3 separate regions of the Homo sapiens genome follow, and all the other regions are linked to region 1. The links are contacts of gene promoters, found by promoter capture Hi-C in human tissues and cell types (Jung and others, 2019). All regions are on one chromosome and are shown on one strand. Each heading gives the region's core, a stretch centred on a gene start or on the middle of the fragment in contact. The rest is flanking DNA. Distances are from core to core; before and after follow the strand shown.

Region 1 (2,804 bases), core at 132-2,631:
ACTGAAATAATAAGCCATTTTATCAGAAAGGTTAACATCTGTTAAGGCCTTATATTTTTTTACGTAGCTTAAAATCTGTTGAAGGCTTACTATATGCCAGGCACTGCAAAACGCATTTTATAAGCTTTATTTTATTTAGCCTAACAATAACTGTAGGGGATGCAGACATGCATTAGGTATCTATCCTTACTGATTTTCTTATCAGAAGCAACCCAAATCTCACCTTCCTGGCAGGTAGATCATTATAGGCTCTTAGCTACTATTAATAATTAAATTATTTTCCTATGCAGTAGCTGAATGAATAGCAGAGACAACTATAGTTTACAATCAAGATTTTTGTCTAAACTTTTAAGAGAAAGTCCAGTTTTATTATTTAAAACATTTTGAAAAAAATTATAACATTTATATATCATCTTTTCCTCGATGCATAACACTTTTTACAAAGTTTAGTGGTAGATAAGTGAGGGGTAACTCAAATCAGAGAAACAGGGGTGCAGACGTTTGATTAACTTGTCTCATATCATAACTTTTCAAGATTTCATTATCATTCCACAACACTGCCCTCAAAAAAGAATTTTGTAATTACCATTGAGTGACAAAATACCAAGTAGTGACAGAGGTGTATAGACGAACTCAAAAGTTATTGTAGGAGGACACTGATAAAATGTTGGGGAAAATCACAAAAGACACGAGAAGATAATTTAGAGCTCTATGCCCAAATCACATGACTCCAGTCTCTGGCTCTCTTAGCCAGAACAGCGAATCTTTTACAATTTACCTCTTGTTGCCAATAATTTTCTATTATCTTCAAATAATAATAGGCTGGAGTATGAACCTAGTTTATCAATACTTTTTTAAAAAACCGACATTCCTCTCTTAAGGAGTCCATGCATTCTCCCCATTTTTTAGAAAATTGTTCCATGAAGAGGAATTAAGTTTATTCCTTTGAATTCTAGTCTGCATCCCAGCTTTTAGAACACGGGATGCAGAACCAGTTGATTTGCCACAGGCCAAGTCCTGAGTCTCCAGCGAATCAAGCAATTAACCAGTCACTTGGCCTTTTTGCAGAAATCCACAAAACGTGTAGACTCGCTTAATTCCATCTCCTCCTGGCCTCTTCACACGGAAATTGGCTGCTCGGGCGAATGTTGTTTTTCTCCGCAGCCATGTGTCGAAGGGCGATTAACATTCGCTCGACAAAACCCTGTCCCGGGCCATTTGGGAGTTGCACGCGTTCACACCCGGGGCTCAGCCCGGTGCGCCTTCACGCGCAGCCTTTTTGTTTATGCGGCTAGCAGGGAGAGGGGCGGAGAGGCAGCGAACCTCTCAATGTGCAGCAGGCCGCGAGGGCTATATAAAGCTCGGGTCTCGGACCTACTGGAACTGGTCAAGATTGCCCGCGAGCTGGCAGCGGCCTTCCGCCCAGCTCTGCGGCGTCATGGAGAACGCGGGAGGCGCAGAGGGTACAGAGAGTGGAGCTGCGGCGTGCGCGGCCACCGACGGCCCTACGCGGCGCGCGGGCGCGGACTCCGGGTAGGCTTCCCCGCGCTGCTCTGCGCCTCCCAGCTTCCCCCGTCTCTCCCTCCTGCGCCTCCCCAGCTCCTCCCCTCCAACTCTCCATCCCCCACTGCCCGGTGCCAGCGCTCGGCTTCGGTGGATTCTCCCGGGTCTGGGCTCACGTCTCCTCTGCGCGCCTTGTGCTCCCCTATCCCGCAGATACGCAGGCTTCTGGAGACCCTGGGTGGACGCCGGAGGCAAGAAAGAAGAGGAGACGCCGAACCACGCCGCGGAGGCGGTGAGTGAGCCACGCGTCTCAGGCCGCGCCTCCCACGGGTGCAGAAGATCGACCAGGGCTCTCGGGACGCAGGGCCTGAGAGAGACATGCGAGACACCGGGTCCTGCCTCTCGCTTAACATCCCGCCTGCCGGTGGCCATAAAGGTGCCGACGCGGCGGATGTGTCCTCTGGAGCGATGGGCCACAGGCACCCAGCCGGGAGCGAGGCTGCTGAGAGCCCTGGGGTTACATTCCCAGCGGGCACGAGGAACACTGGGTCGTGCACGTTTCCACTTTCTAGAAGGAGGTGGGTGATAACTGGATTCACTTCCTTTCCTCTCCAGATGCCCGATGGCCCTGGAATGACCGCAGCCTCAGGAAAGCTTTACCAATTCAGGCACCCAGTCAGGTGAGTGACAGGCCTCGCCGAAGGTCTCCCGCTCCTCCAGCCCCAGGGAGGAGCCAGGGGCATCGCGCAGCCCAGCTCCGCAGCTGGTCCTGCAGTCTCTCTCTCTCTCTCTGAAAATCTGGCTTCAAGGTTACTTATCTTCTCACTCATCAAATTGAAAAAGGTAGGGGCTCACGGTCCCACGTAAAGGGACTGTTGATGAATACATACTCAGTGAACTTGATGAATATATTACGAAGAGGGAAAGGGGATGATATGGTAAGAGAGCGGTGACATCTTGTGCTGGCAAAACAGTTTTTATTTTTAAATCCTAAAGGGTTCGAATGAAATTGACTTCGCATCAGGCAGAGTGTGTATGCTGCTTTTGTCTTGCAATCTGGAAGGAAGAATGGGATTAACAGTTACAGTCTTACAAGTTTGCCGAGTAGGAAAAAATAGAAATGTAATGAAAATCCTAAAGATTATTGAGAATGGTTATAGAAAGGGTCAAAAGTTTATTTAACTTGCGGAGCTAGTTTACTGTTCCTAGTCACAGGAAGTCAGCCTTTATCTAAGATTCTGTGTCACTTTTATTCAGGTGAAATGTTAAGAATTCTGCAGTTTTCCTGCCTCCGAGAGCTG
Region 2 (2,804 bases), core at 198-2,697, 490 kb after region 1:
CTTGCCAAGATGCTGCAGTTACTAAGGCATGAAGACATGTTCCAAACTCAGATATGTCCAAAAGTAAAATCCCTCATATAATGACTACTAATTTCATATTTGCCATTCACTAACTTTGTGCCTTGGGAAAGCATGTAATCTCCCCGGGCTCAATTTCCTCATGAAATGAGGAATTTGGACTAGATGATTTCTAATATCCCTTCCAGTTCCAGTATTTTTATCTTTATTCTGAGAAATTAACATTGAATTTCTTAGTATAGACTGTAAAGGTTCACCACTTTGGAGCACTGACTAGTGGAACTCACTAAGATAATTAATCAAATGGGGGAGAAAATGATTAATTATATAAATATGAGCAATTGCTTAATACTCCAACACAAAATTATGATAGACCCCAGGAAGCCTAATGAGGATTCTATAACCTTGCTGCTGAACCAAAAACTAAAGAATCTTTGGTTCAAGCTCCTCCTGACTTACTCCCCAGCTGTAGGTAGGGAAGCTGATAAAGAGAAAGAGAGAGAACAATGTGCATTTTTCTGTTATATGCAGGGAGTCTACCTACTGAAAGGGGGCCCAGTGGACATGGAACTCTAAGATAAGGCATTCTTCCTGGGCAGCAGTGAGTATAGGTGAGTGTGCAGAGAATAAAAATAACCCATCCCAAACTCTTCCCTGCCTTGAAAGAGAAGATAGAAATCCTCTCCTCTATCAGCAGAGGCAGAAATACAAGGCGATCATAAATATTTTCCCAGTTTGTTGACTCTGCCTAATATAGTTTGGATATTTGTTCTTGCCCAAATCTCACGCTGAATTGTAATTTCCAATATTAGAGACAGGGCCTGGTGGAAGGTGATTGGATCATGGGGGTGGATCTCTCATGAATGATGGTGTATTAGTCTGTTCCCACACTGCTATAATGAACTCCCTGAGACTGGGTGATTTATGAAAAAAAAGAGGTTTAATTGACTCCACAGGCTGTATAGGAAGCATGGCTGGGATGTCTCAGGAAACTTACAATCATGGGGGAAGGCAAAAGGGAAGCAAGCTCATTTTCTCATGGTGGCAGGAGAGAGAGAGTGAAAGGGGAAGTGCTACACACTTTTAAACAGCCTGATATCGTGAGAACTCACTCACTATCATGAGAACAGCAAGTGGAAAATCTGCCCGTGTGATCCAGTCACCTCCTACTCGGTCCCTCCCCCAGCAATAGGAATTAAAATTTGACCCAAGATTTGGGTGGGGACACAGAACCAAACCATATCAAATGGTTTAGCACCATCCTCTTTTTGCTTTTTTGCCATAGTGAGTTCTTGTGAGATCCGGTCTTTTAAAAGTGTGTGGCACCTCCCCTCCCCACAACTGTCTCTCTTTTTCTTGCCCCTGCTTTTGCCATGTGAAATGTCTGCTCCTGCTTTGCCTTCTGCCATGAGTAAAAGCCCCCTGAGGCCTCCCCAGAAGCAGATGCTGCTATGCTTCTTGTACAGCCTTCAGTACTGTAAGCCAACTAAACCTCTCTTTTTATAAATTGCCCACTTTCAGGTATTTCTTTATAGCAATGCAAGAACAGTTTGATACACTGCCTAAATCCCTTTTTCCCCTAGTCAAGCTCAAAATAAACTATGTCCTGTTAAAAAGAAGGTTAGCAGTTTATGAGGTAACTCCTGGCCCATATACATGAGACTGTTCACTTCTACAAGCTCTGCTCTTTCTATGTTCTAAGACAATGAGATGAGCAATTCAGCTGTTGTCTCAAAGCCTCTGAAATGGATCAGAGAAAGAATTCTTAGTTAACCTTAGATAGCTCTCTTATGTATAGTCAACAGTTTCTTTTCATGGGGACAGGTGAAATTATGAGAAGCTTCCTATTAGCACACATGCATGCATACACACACACAACCCTCTCCAGCTCCCAAATTATCTGTCCCTTTCCCTTGGTATTAAAATTTCTTGAAAAAGTAGTCTAAATTCATTGTCTAATTATGTCACCTCTCACCTCTCAACTGACTCCTTTCTGGCTTCTTAAATTAAAACCTCTCTATCTAATCACCATCGACTTCCATATCACTAAATCCAAAGGGCAGTTTTCAATCCTCATCTCACACAATCCATCAGAAACATTTGAAATTGGAGTCAACTTTTTATCAGAAACATCCTCTTTACTTGAAACACCTTCATACCATCAAAACCAAGCATTAAGAGGTTAGGGGCCCATATTCCTTTGGTTTTTCTCTTCCCTCTCTGGCCCCTCCTTCTCAGCCACCTTGAAAGAACATTCATCCTTACCCATCTAGACATTAAATGTTCAAGTTCCATGAGCCTCTGTTCTATGCTCCCTTCTTTCACTATATAATTTTTCCTTATTCAGTATCATTCATAGCCATGGCTTGATTTCTGACTTATGAATAATACAACCAAATGTTGCAAATTTATTTCTCAAGCAGAAACCTCTCATCTGAGCTGCTGGCTCATATATTGTGATTGCTTGGCATATCTACTTAGACATCTCAAAAGTTCCTCAAACTCAGATTGAATTTATGATCCTCCCTCCAAGCTTCCTACAGTGTTCCCTGTCTCAGTGAATTACACCGGCGCTCATCCATTTAATTACTTAAGTCAGAAACCAAGTAGCAATCTTGGATACTTTCCATAGTCTAATATCTAGTGTATAATCAAGTCCTGTCCACTATTACTTCTTTATAATAAAATGTCTAAAATTCATCAATTTATCTTCATTTAATGCCCTAATTCAAGATTCTTTCATCTCTCATCTGTACTATTCCAATAGTTACTTTAAATTTATGCTT
Region 3 (2,804 bases), core at 155-2,654, 330 kb after region 1:
GAAGAAAAGTAAAATACAAATTTCTAAGTGAACTTTTTGTAATATATCTTTTATCTACAATTTCTTATAAAGTCGACATGCATTTGAAATAAGAAAAACATTTTAAACATTTCTAGAAGAAACTAAAGAAATAATCATAAATTTGTATTAAGGAGGCATAGAGTATAAATACTAAAAAAGCATATATTTAATCACAGTATAGGAAAAATTTTAATGTAAAACAGAAAAATCACTAGGCTTTGAAAAGAAAATCATTTCTGTGGTTTAAAACACTTAAATGTAACAATTCAATTAGATATTAAATACCTAGAAGATACAACGTAAGGAAATGTTTTAAATGCGGTTAAATATTGGCAAACTACAGGGTCTCCAAAAATATGGGAACTGTTAGTCTTAAAATATTTAATCGTGTGTCAATTAGGCCATTTAATTTTATAATTTATAAAATAAGATTAAAGAATGTTTAAGAGGCTACCATTTTCATATAATGTAGATTGGCTTCTTGGTAACTGCTAGTAGGTGGAATCATCAGAAATATAATAGTTCTTTCCTTCTTCATAGCAGCAGAACCTGGCTAGATGCTAATCAAAATTGTTTCTCATTCTTGCTGGGTACCAACTAAACTATATTTCCTTGCCAACTTCCATCTAGATGGGACCATTTACTAGTTTTTCCCTTTAGAATGTGAGTGCTATGATGCTAAGAACCCAACTTATTTGTTACTGGCTTAGTTGTCAAGTTTAGGATGGCAGGAAACTGATAACTAGAGTCTGGAGAGACGGCAGCCTATGTTTTACAGTGGCAAAACATTGCTAAACTGTCATCTACAAAAGTTTATAAGGCAGACCACATGCCAGCCGACCATGGAGAACTAAGAGAAATGACTGGAAAGAACAAGGAGTTAAGTGCTGGCTACTATTAGCTTCTTTTAACAAGATATTACCAAAAAACTGATGAGCTCAACACAGAATGAGCTGGTTTGTAAGCAGAATTTAAAGAGAATAGAAGGAATCTAGAAACTCTGGAAATGGGTTCTCTCTCTGTAGACTCAGTCTGTAAGATTCAGCCTTGAAGAATGCTATGAAAAAGCAAGATTTCAAGAGACTTCTTGGTTGAAAAGAGTGACCCAGTCCCTTAGCAAAGATCATATTAAGAGTGTCATCCAGAGTGAGACTCCGTCTCAAAAAAAAAAAAAAAAAGAGTGTCATCTTCACATTTAAGTATTGTTTCCCCAAATATCCAGAGAACTGCAAATAAACGCAGAGAAAAAAATTAGAGGGACAAGGAATCAAATATTAAAGCAGATTTAAAACCTTTGTCTAGCAAAGAACTTTTTTTTTTTAAACTTTTATTCCAGGTTCAGGGATACGGGTATTGTTCACGGGGATTTGGTGTTCAGACTATTTCACACCCAGGTAATAAGCATAGTACCCAATAGGTAGTTTTTCGATCTTCACCCTCCTCCCAACCTCTCAAGTAGGCCCCAGTGTCTGTTGTTCTCATCTCTCTGTCCATATGTACTTGATGTTTAGCTCCCACTGATAAGTGAGAACATACAGTATTTTGTTTTCTGTTCCTGCATTAGTTTGCTTAGGACAATGGCCTCTAGCTTCATCCATGTTGGTGCAAAGAACGTGACCTCATTCGTTTTTATGGCTGCATGGTATTCCATGGTGTACATGTATCACACTTTCTTTATCCAGTCTACCACTGATGGGCATATTTAGGTTGATTCCATGTCTTTGATCTTGTGAACAGTGCTGCAATGAACATATGCATGCATATGTCTTTATGGTAGAACAATTTATATTCCTTTTGGTATATATCCAATGATGAGATTGCCGGGTGAATAGTAATTCTGCTTTAAGTTCTTTGAGAAGTCGCCAAATTGCTTTCCACAATGGCTGAACTAATTTACATTCCCACCAGCAGTGTATAAATGTTCCCTTTTCTCTGCAACCAGCATATTTTTTTTTGTTTTTTACTTTTTAATAATAGCTATTCTGACTGGCATGAGATGGCATCTCATTGTGGTTTAATTTGTATTTCTCTAATGATTAGTGATGTTGAGCATTTTTTCAAATGCTTGTTGGCTGCACGTCTTCTTTTGAAAAATGTCTGTTCATGTCCTTGCCCACTTTTTTTTTTTGAGATGGAGTCTCGCTCTGTCACCAGGCTGGAGAGCAGTGGTGTGACCTCGGCTCACTGAAACCTCTGCCTCTTGGGTTCAAGCGATTCTCCTGCCTCAGCCTCCCGAGTAGCTGGTGAGAGGTGACAGCATGCTGGCAGTTCTCAGAGCCCTCGCTTGCTCTCGGCACCTCCCCTGCCTGGGCTCCCACTTTGGTGGTATTTGAGGAGCCCTTCAGCCCCCCACTGCACTGTGGGAGCCCCTTTCTGGGCTGGCCAAGGCCAGAGCCCACTCCCTCAGCTTGCAGGGAGGTGTGGAGGGAGAGGCACGAGCGGGAACCGGGGCTGCGTGCGGCGCTTGCGGGCCAGCTGGAGTTCCGGGTGGGCATGGGGTTGGTGGGCCCCGCACTCGGAGCAGCCAGCCAGCCCTGCTGGCCCTGGGCAATGGGGGACTTAGCACCCGGGCCAGTGGCTGCAGAGGGTGTACTGAGTCCCCCAGCAGTGCTGGCCCACCGGCGCTGCGCTCGATTTCTCGCCGGGCCTTAGCTGCCTTCCCACAGGGCAGGGCTCGGGACCTGCAGCCCGCCATGCCTGAGCCTCCCACCCACTCCATGGGCTCCTGTGTGGCCCAAGCCTCCCCGACGAGCACCACCCCCTGCTCCACGGCGCCCAGTCCC

The links. Contacts are between HindIII fragments. The study calls those that stand out against the background at their distance.
Region 2: a fragment that was not itself captured here is called in contact with the fragment with the promoter of RIPPLY2 in region 1 in 1 of the 25 tissues and cell types used here (lymphoblastoid cells).
Region 3: a contact is called between a fragment that was not itself captured here and the fragment with the promoter of RIPPLY2 in region 1, in 1 of the 25 tissues and cell types used here (lymphoblastoid cells).

What each region holds. Positions count from the first base shown.
Region 1 is chr6:83,851,979-83,854,782 of GRCh38, forward strand. It overlaps RIPPLY2 (ripply transcriptional repressor 2), which reads left to right and starts at 1,382. Exons shown (of 4, transcript NM_001009994.3): 1 at 1,382-1,533; 2 at 1,717-1,795; 3 at 2,119-2,183. The coding sequence starts at 1,439. It overlaps RIPPLY2-CYB5R4 (RIPPLY2-CYB5R4 readthrough), which reads left to right and starts at 1,382. Exons shown (of 18, transcript NR_174604.1): 1 at 1,382-1,533; 2 at 1,717-1,795; 3 at 2,119-2,183. The HindIII fragment of the contact is 6,654 bases long and covers 1-2,804 here.
Region 2 is chr6:84,343,103-84,345,906 of GRCh38, forward strand. No RefSeq gene overlaps it. Among named protein-coding and RNA genes, the nearest start is that of CEP162, 120 kb to the left of the region's middle. The HindIII fragment of the contact is 3,479 bases long and covers 1-2,804 here.
Region 3 is chr6:84,186,922-84,189,725 of GRCh38, forward strand. The region is part of intron 11 of CEP162 (centrosomal protein 162); the gene reads right to left. Among named protein-coding and RNA genes, the nearest start is that of CEP162, 39 kb to the right of the region's middle. The HindIII fragment of the contact is 6,083 bases long and covers 1-2,804 here.